Regions from separate parts of the Homo sapiens genome. Here region 1 is linked to region 2. Evidence: promoter capture Hi-C in 16 types of primary human blood cells and fetal thymus (Javierre and others, 2016). All regions are on one chromosome and are shown on one strand. The core of a region is centred on a gene start or on the middle of the fragment in contact, and the rest is flanking DNA. Distances in the headings are between cores, read along the strand shown.

Region 1 (4,348 bases), core at 1,185-3,684, 2.1 Mb before region 2:
CTGCAGGATCTGATGCTATCTCTAGGTATACAGTATCAGAATTGAATTAGAGGACACCCAGCTGGAGAATCTGCTGCAGAATTTCCTCCTTGCTTGTGAGGAGAAATCTTTTGGGGGTCTGTGTTGAGAGAGAATAGGAGAAACTCAATTTTTTTCTATCAAAACAACTGGATTAAACAAAGCTAGTTTTCTTTGCTACAGAATGACTCACATCCTGTTATATGCTAATATGCATTGTGACTTTCCAGGAAAATGCTTGTGTATGCAACATACTAAAATTTTTTTTTGCGAAAAAGTTCTTCTATGCAAATAATGAATTTTCAGTATTTTTGACTAGATGGTAGATGAATACCCATCAATTCAGGATAGCTCAGAAATACTGAATGTTTTACTATGTGCTAGGCACGGTGCTCAGTGATACACATGCATTTTCTTTTACTCTTTATGATGCTTCTTTAAAGTAGGCACCAAGAAACTAGGAGAAAACTAAAGTTTAGTAACGATAACGTTAGTCACTACATTCATTGAAACAGCAGAGATACAGGCCTAAATTAATCAATGGCTGTGCATTATCAGTTTTAATCATTTGTTCAATTAGTTGCCCATCAGGTTTACAGAATTCTGTTCTAGAAAGACTCACTTCCTGCTAACAACCCAATAGTCCTGCTTCCTTTTCCATAAGAAGAAACACTTAGACCTTTAAATTAGGTATAGTTAGACATCAGTTTGTTTGTTAATGATATACACTTAAAAAAGAATAATCCCAGGATCTGGCTTCACGAACCAAATAAAAGTAATGTTTTAAGTCAGCTGCTTGTCAAAACCAAAGGACACACTTTTCTTTGATAAGAAATGCTTCCAAATCAGAAATTATTCACTTGTAACAAAAACCAAATTCTTGCTGCCTGAGTAACAGCTCTTGAGTTCTTGGTTCCACAATATTTCTGTCACATACATCTGGCCCTTTTATTCCTCATACTTTGATGTCAGAATACTTCATTCATGCAGAAATGTAACAGAATGCATGGAAAAACAGATGACAAGGCAAATTACTGAAGAACTTGTGCTTTTAACTATTATCTGTATTTAGATTTTAACCCCTGCAATGAGGCTGCCTCAACATCCCAAAGCAAACAACGGGCAGACTTATATAATGCCTTTATAAGACATACAGTAAAACTACAATCTTAAGGATGAGCAAACACCATATTCAGGTCTCTTAATCCCAAGAAACCATGTGCAACAAATAGCCCATCAGCAAAGCAGTAGGCAGATTAATTAGCTACCTTGATGAACTTTGATGTTATTTGCAACTGATTATTAGTAACTGATATGTGTATCAAACAACTAGTAGAAATAAATCATGCTCAGAAAGTAGACTAGGATATAGTCTGCCTAAGATTTCTCCTACAAAAAAAGACATGTGAATTCAGCTGTTTGTGACTAGGTATACATGTAAATAAGAGAGCCATCATGTACTTCCACATTGAGGATAGACCACCACTATACAATTCACTCAAATGAGTCACATCACCGTATGCTTCTTATACATCAGCATATACTTAAATGTCTATGTGTGCGTTTTTGTAAGTAGTACGTTATCTAGTCAATAGCTTTGAATCTGGGCAAAGGCTCTCCTTTTCCCAGCCTCCATTCTCTTTCTGATTCGTCTTCCTTGTCTGTCATCAGCCTTCTTGCTTGATGCAGTTTCACAGAAATAAAGTGACTTGGATGGACACAGACCGGAGATATTATTTGCAAAACCTGTCAAGTGTAACGATTCACCCCCACCTTCCGGTCATTATAAACACAGCAGGGTTGGCGCTCTTTCCCCCGGGCCCTTTAAATACACAATTTCAGGCAGCTCCGTTCACCCCCCACACCCAATCTGTCACACCAGGCCACGTCCCACGATATATCTGCTCCTAACGCTGGCCCTTCCTGCCCCATTGTACCCCCTGGAATTCCTCACTACATCCCACTCTTAACAAACCTTCCCCATCCATGGTACTGTTCTCTTCCCATCACCCCAGAGTACCCCTCAATTCCAATTCTTCTCTCCCTCAACTGCTCCTCGTCCGCATACCCCTGTCCTCGTCTTCCTTCCTCACGGCACCCCCGGCCCCAACCTTTTCCCACTCCGGGGTCCCTTCCTAGATCCCCGAGGCCCGCCGACCAGCCCGACTAGGACGTCGGGGGGCGGCAAGGCAGGGGCGTCTTCTTCGTTTCCTTCCTCCTCACACCAGCCCCTCCCGCTGCGAACAGGCCAGCGCCAGTACCTGAGGCTCCCGGGGAACTCCCGGCAGCTCTCCCGGGCTGGCGGTGCTGGGCGGGCGGGGGAAGGAGTAGGAAGCCGAGGTAAGAAGCTGGGAGGGGGAGACAGTTGGTGCGGACCCGGCGTCGGCCGCAGCGCCGCAGCAGCGCCTCCGCTCATCGAGCCGATCGGCGCTCGGCGGCCTGGCGCCAGGCGGAGGGGGCGGGTCCAGGGCACGGAGATAATCGAGGAAGTCGATCCGCCGAGCCCTATTCACCTAAAAGAGCCCGAACCCACACGCAGTTTAGATGCATCTCTCCAAATTTATGCTGTGCTTTAGGGGAGGAACAACCACTGGTTGTCCACGTTCCGGTCGTGATCCGGCGTGCGTGGAGGGCGATTAGGGGAGGAGTGGGAAACTTCCGAGAACCGCTCGGGACTGGGCGCCGCGCCGGAGTGCGTGGCTGGGGTGATGAGGCGTTAGAAAGAAGGTGGTGCTTGGTGGCACATCCGTCCCTCTGGCTGACTACGTTGAGTGGCAAGTGGAGAGTGGCTCGCAGCTCGAGGACCTGCTTCGGGTTCGTCTGGGGCCTTTTCTGAAGAAAGGAGATCTGTTTGATCCCCTGTTTACAGAATTAGAGCTAGACTTGGAAAGAGATGTTAAGGCCAGGCTCCTCCCTTTAGATAGGAGGAATATCTGGTTCAGAGAGGAGATTGACTTAAAGTTAACACGGCTAGTTTAGATAGATACGGGACGAGGGCTCGGTGTTCTTTTCCCGGTATCCCTTAGTTGTAACCTGAAAGCCTTCAGGAAATCGCCCTCGCCAGGCCATTCCGCCACTCTGCCCATTCCTTCCTCACTCCCTCCCCCTCCGCCCAATTTGGTATCATGTTTAGATCTCCACGCCCGCAGTAGCTGTCTACCAGAAACAATTCCTAATTTTGTTTTTCCGTTCTCTTATTTGTTTTATTATCCGTTCCTCCCACGCCCCAGCTGGATTATTTTACTCATTGAATCATATTCACTACACATCTTTTAAAATTAATACAGTATCTATGGGTCCTTTGTTGATACAGTATTTTAACTGTCTGAAATACTGTGCCAGGCACTTTCTAAAGACATAAAAATAAGAGGGGGTGTTCAAGAACAAGAGTAGACAAGAAAACAGCAGGAGGAAAGATCTGCGGACACTAAAGGAAAGGAAAGAATAGACACCCTCTTACCAAAAAGTTGTTCTTCTTTTGTTTGATGTTTATTTTTATGTAAAAATGTACTAACGAATTTGAAAGATGCCATGACTAAGGCAACGATGCTCCACTCTGATTCACTTGGAGTTGAATCACTTGGAAAGCTTTTAAAACTACGTAGGTGCCCACGTGCTACCTAGATTCTGATTTAAATGTTCTGAGATTTAGAAACAGCCGTTGAGTTGTCAGTTGAAGGTTCTGAAAGCTTAATGCTAAACTCAGTTGCCTGTGTTTATTCAGTCCAAGTTGCTGTCCAAGTCAGCAACTTGGACTGAAACGGCCCACTTAGAAGAGAAGCCTCTCATGGTTTGTATCCCTGTCTAGGTGTGATAGTGGGTCTACCCCCAGACTCCACAGGTAACCCTGACATTATTTTTTCTTCTACAGCTGATCTTTTTTTTTTTTTTGAGATGAAGTCTCACTTCTTCCCCCAGGCTGGAGTGCAGTGACACAATCATAGCGCACAGCAGCTCTGAACTCCTGAGCTAAAGTGATCTTCCTGCCTCTGCCTCCCAAGTAGCTGGGATTACAGGCATGAGCAGCTGTGCCCAGCACTTACAGTTGATTTTATGTCTGTATATTTGCATGTTATGGGCTATTTTCTGGCTTTGGTGCCTTAGCCAATTAGAGTTTAGCTAGTTATAGCCTCATCTCTTAGACAACTTAAGGTGTGGTCAGTGAGCTCTAACAGGCACGTCATTGCATAGCTTTTACAGATAATCCATTCTTTGGGTTTTTTTGTTTTTTAAACATAATTCTTTAGTCCTGCCAGTCATTTTGGAATGATCGCTTAGGAGAGGGGTAATGCAAGCCCCACCCTTAATCACCTGAACAAAGTCCCTTTGA
Region 2 (3,984 bases), core at 549-3,048:
CTACAGGTATGCACCAACACGCCTGGCTAATTTTTGTATTTTTTGGTAGAGATGGGGTTTCTCCATGTTGGCCAGGCTGGTCTTGAACTCCTGACCTCAGGTGATCCGCCTGCCTTGGCCTCCCAAAGTGCTGGATTACAGGCATAAGCCACCACACCTGGCCTCTGACATATTTCTTAAAAAGATATACACTTGTCCTCTTAGATGTGGGCTTCACTTTCATTCTCAATTATAGCTACTTATCTTGTTCCCAATCTTAGCCCCTTTCCCTAATCCATCATCAGTCTTTCATTGTCACCACTTTTATCATTACCTTGCTTGAGATCCCATAACAGTTCCCACACATCTATATGAAGTCAAATCAGAATTCCTGTCTGGCTTTCAAGGCACTACTGTATTTGATCTTATTATCTGATCCTATCCAGGTTCATTTTCTACTACTTCAGTTCTTCCCCAAGATCCATCGACATTAGCCTTTCCAAAATCCAACATTCTGCATACACTTCCTCTAAGGTTTTGTATACAACATTGGGGGGTGGGGGGATGGGAGTGAAGAAAGTTCCAGTAGACAATTCTTTAAGAGGTTAAATGACAGCCCTATACCCAAACATGCACCCCCTACTCTAGACAGATGATCACTCTACTGTTCTCCCTGCCTTTTTATTCACCTTATCGCCAATTAAAAACACTTCTCTACTCCCGTTTGTCTCAGTAAATCTTATCCATTTTCCATGTGCCATCTCCTCAGAAGTTTTCCTGAGCTTGGCAGGGCTAGTTCTCTTGACAATTCCACTTGCAGTTGTGGTTCACAGCACACAAGTAAAGCTTTGTTGTTTCTCTTGTGATTAGTCCGTGAAGGGGCTCTGACTTGATCACTTTTCTACATTGCCACCAATACCTAAATCCAACCGCCCCAATGCCAATACTTAGCCAGTGTTAAGCACGTAGTGTTTAAACACACCTCAACACGCAAGTATTGTAAGATAATGACCACACAACAGGGCAAATACAAAGTTAAAGCAGGTCCGGGACCAATACAAAGCATCTTTACCAATAAAATGCCGTGATGACGCTGTCACCCATTCCGGATTCACGAATCATTCTTCAAAAGTCCGGCTCCAAAACTATGTGGAGACTGAAATCCCCTGAAGAAAAAAAAAAAAAACCGCCAAAATGACAGCTAAGACAGAGGCCAGACTAACCCCTGGCCCTCCCAAATTCCCTCTCGCTCCACAAGTGGGTTCACAAGAGACACAAACGCACCCAGGAAGACCTCCGCTCCCTCAGACGCGGGGCGGGCCCTGCGACTTCACTCTGGGAGGGACATTTCCGCTCACCCAGCTCTGCGACCCTCGCTCCTGCGGAGTCAGCTTCTGCTCGCGGAGGGGGAAGGGCAAAAGGACAGTGCGTCCCAACCCGTCCCTCTCCAGCTGAGCCTGTCAGAGACCAGCCCAGCTCTGAAATCAAGCCGTTGAGAAAAGGGAATTCGGCCCTCCGCCGCCTCTTCAGTTTAAAATCGTTTCCCGACTCGCTCTGCGGCCCCACGCAGGAAGCCTCCTTGGCGCCTCGCCGATTCCGTATCAGTGAAGCAACTAAAATTGCCATTTTAACTGAGGGCAAGGCCGAGCCACTTAACCACTATCGTCAACCTTTCCAATCGTGCTCGGTTGCTCCTCAGTTTTCCTACCGGTGCGAAGCTTTCTCTCAAATTTCCGCCCGTAGTAGGCATGGCGGCGGCACCTCACCACTGATTCGTTGAATTCCTTCCCGGTAATCTTGGGCACTAGCGGGCGGAGTTGAAGGGCGCTTGGACCCCAGCGGCGATCTGTGTTTGGGTTCGCGCTCTGGGAGAATTTTGGCTTTGCTCGCCTTCCTCTTTCAGAAGACTCGAAATCGGCCAGCAGGTCTGCGAGATTTGAAACGCGACTGTTACTCCTTGTTTTCCGGTTCTGGCCGCGGGAGCCTCTCGAGAAGCGTGGAAAGAGGAGAAGGGCGTATACCTTGTGACCGCCTCTGGTTGTCTTGGGCTCGCGCCTGGCGCCGCTACGTGGAGTCGCTCTCTCGTCGTCACTTTTGGCTGCCGACTTGTTGAGTAGAAGTGCAGACTGATGCTTTAAGACTCAGGGAGAGGTCTTTCCCTTATCTCCACCCCAGCAAGCACCCCAGAGACCTTGGAGATTTGTCTTGTTTCTAGACACGTGTACTCCAATGTTGTGCGGAGGAGGCCTTAAATATTCGAGAAGAGAGTGGGAACTCCTGGAATTTTAAGGGATTTCTGTGTATTTCCAAAACTGACTTTTAACTACCGGCAGCGTGGGATTTCGTGATTGTTTTTCGCCATCGTGTGGCTCCAACATGTACTTCCCTTCTTGGTTAAGTCAGCTGTACAGGGGTTTATCCAGACCCATCAGAAGGACCACCCAACCGATCTGGGGTTCTCTCTACAGAAGTCTGTTGCAGAGTTCACAGAGGAGAATTCCAGGTGAAAATAGCGAAGAGATCTATCCTATGAACAGTACTTCAGCCTGTTATCTACGGCCGGAGAGCTTTTATTCCATTTTTCATTTTTTCCCCCATTATTATTATTATTATTATTATTATTATTATTATTTGAGACGGAGTCTCGCTCTGCTGCCCAGGCTAGAGTGAAGTGGCGCGATCTCCGCTCACTGCAAGCTCCGCCTCCCGGGTTCACGCCATTCTCCTGCCTCAGCCTCCCGAGTAGCTGGGACTACAGGCGCCCGCGACCACGCCCGGCTAATTTTTCTGTATTTTTGGTAGAGCCGGGGTTTCACTGTGTTAGCCAGGATGGTCTCGATCTCCTGACCTCGTGATCCACCCGCCTCCGCCTCCCATAGTGCTGGGATTACAGGCGTGAGCCACCGCGCCCGGCTTTTCCCCTGTTCTTAACTGGATAGCCTTATGTGTAGAAGCGAAATTCACTCTCATTATATTCATTATACGGCAGTTTTTTTTCCCTGAGTTTTTAGAAAGACCACAAAAAGGTAACCACGTAATATATAGAATACTCTGCTTTTGGTTGATGCCTTAAAAAAATCCTTCTTCGGCCGGGCGCGGTGGCTCACGTCGTTAATCCCAGCACTTTGGGAGGTCGAGGAGGGCGGATCACGAGGTCAGGAGATCGAGACCATCCTGGCTAACACGGTGAAACCCCGTCTCTACTAAAAATAAAAAAAAAATTAGCCGGGCGTGGTGGCGGGCGCCTGTAGTCCCCGCTGCTGGGGAGGCCGAGGCAGGAGAATGGCGTGAACCTCGGAGGCGGAGCTTGCAGTGAGCCGAGATCGCGCCACTGCACTCCAGCCTGGGCGACAGAGCGAGACTCCATCTCAAAAAAAAAAAAAAATCATTTTTCACAGAATTATAATAGTGTTTTCTAGTGTACAAGTGGCTGTTAAACACTAGATTCATACTAAAGCTAAATAGTTCCTACACCGTCCATTTCTGCAGTTTCTAAAATCCTATTTCATTTGAGGAAGAAATGTGCAATATTAAGAATTGGGTAATTAGGATTTTAGGTCAATGCAAATGCTAGAAGATCAAAAAAATTTTGATTTCCTAACACAAGACAGAAATTTACATTCAGTTATTCACTTGGCTTTTGACACATTTGCAGGTAAATTTAATAGTGAATGAATTAAATTACATACTCTGACTTATTTTATTTTATAAATTTCCCCTGTAGCCCTGACATACCTAAGATATATTTTGAGAATTTTCATTTTTAAGCAACCTGCAAGTGATGTATTTTTAATCTTGCCTTTTAAAGTTTCTTTTTTTTTTTTTTTTTAAAGAATTCAGTAGCTTTGTTGTCCGGACCAACACATGTGGAGAGTTGCGTTCGTCTCACTTAGGCCAAGAAGTCACCTTGTGTGGATGGATTCAGTACCGAAGGTAAATTGAGAAAGACAGTCTAAGAATGCATGGTGGTGGTTTTCCCAGGGCAATTCCAAACCTTTACTAATT

What was found. Contacts are between HindIII fragments. The CHiCAGO score rates a contact against its expected background, and 5 or more counts as called.
Region 1: a contact is called between the fragment with the promoter of VAMP4 here and the fragment with the promoter of DARS2 in region 2, in 7 of 17 cell types (fetal thymus, non-activated CD4 T cells, monocytes and 4 more). The highest score is 13.7, in fetal thymus.

What each region holds. Positions count from the first base shown.
Region 1 is chr1:171,739,631-171,743,978 of GRCh38, forward strand. It overlaps VAMP4 (vesicle associated membrane protein 4), which reads right to left and starts at 2,435. Exons shown (of 8, transcript NM_003762.5): 1 at 2,280-2,435. The HindIII fragment of the contact is 4,907 bases long and covers 1-3,604 here.
Region 2 is chr1:173,822,875-173,826,858 of GRCh38, forward strand. DARS2 (aspartyl-tRNA synthetase 2, mitochondrial) reads left to right here and starts at 1,799. Exons shown (of 17, transcript NM_018122.5): 1 at 1,799-2,482; 2 at 3,813-3,912. The coding sequence starts at 2,356. It overlaps CENPL (centromere protein L), which reads right to left and starts at 2,009. Exons shown (of 6, transcript NM_001387287.1): 1 at 1,338-2,009; 2 at 1,052-1,145. RefSeq lists enhancers at 1,286-1,525, 1,503-2,021, 1,756-2,315, 2,022-2,539, 3,181-3,694. The HindIII fragment of the contact is 2,471 bases long and covers 1,696-3,984 here.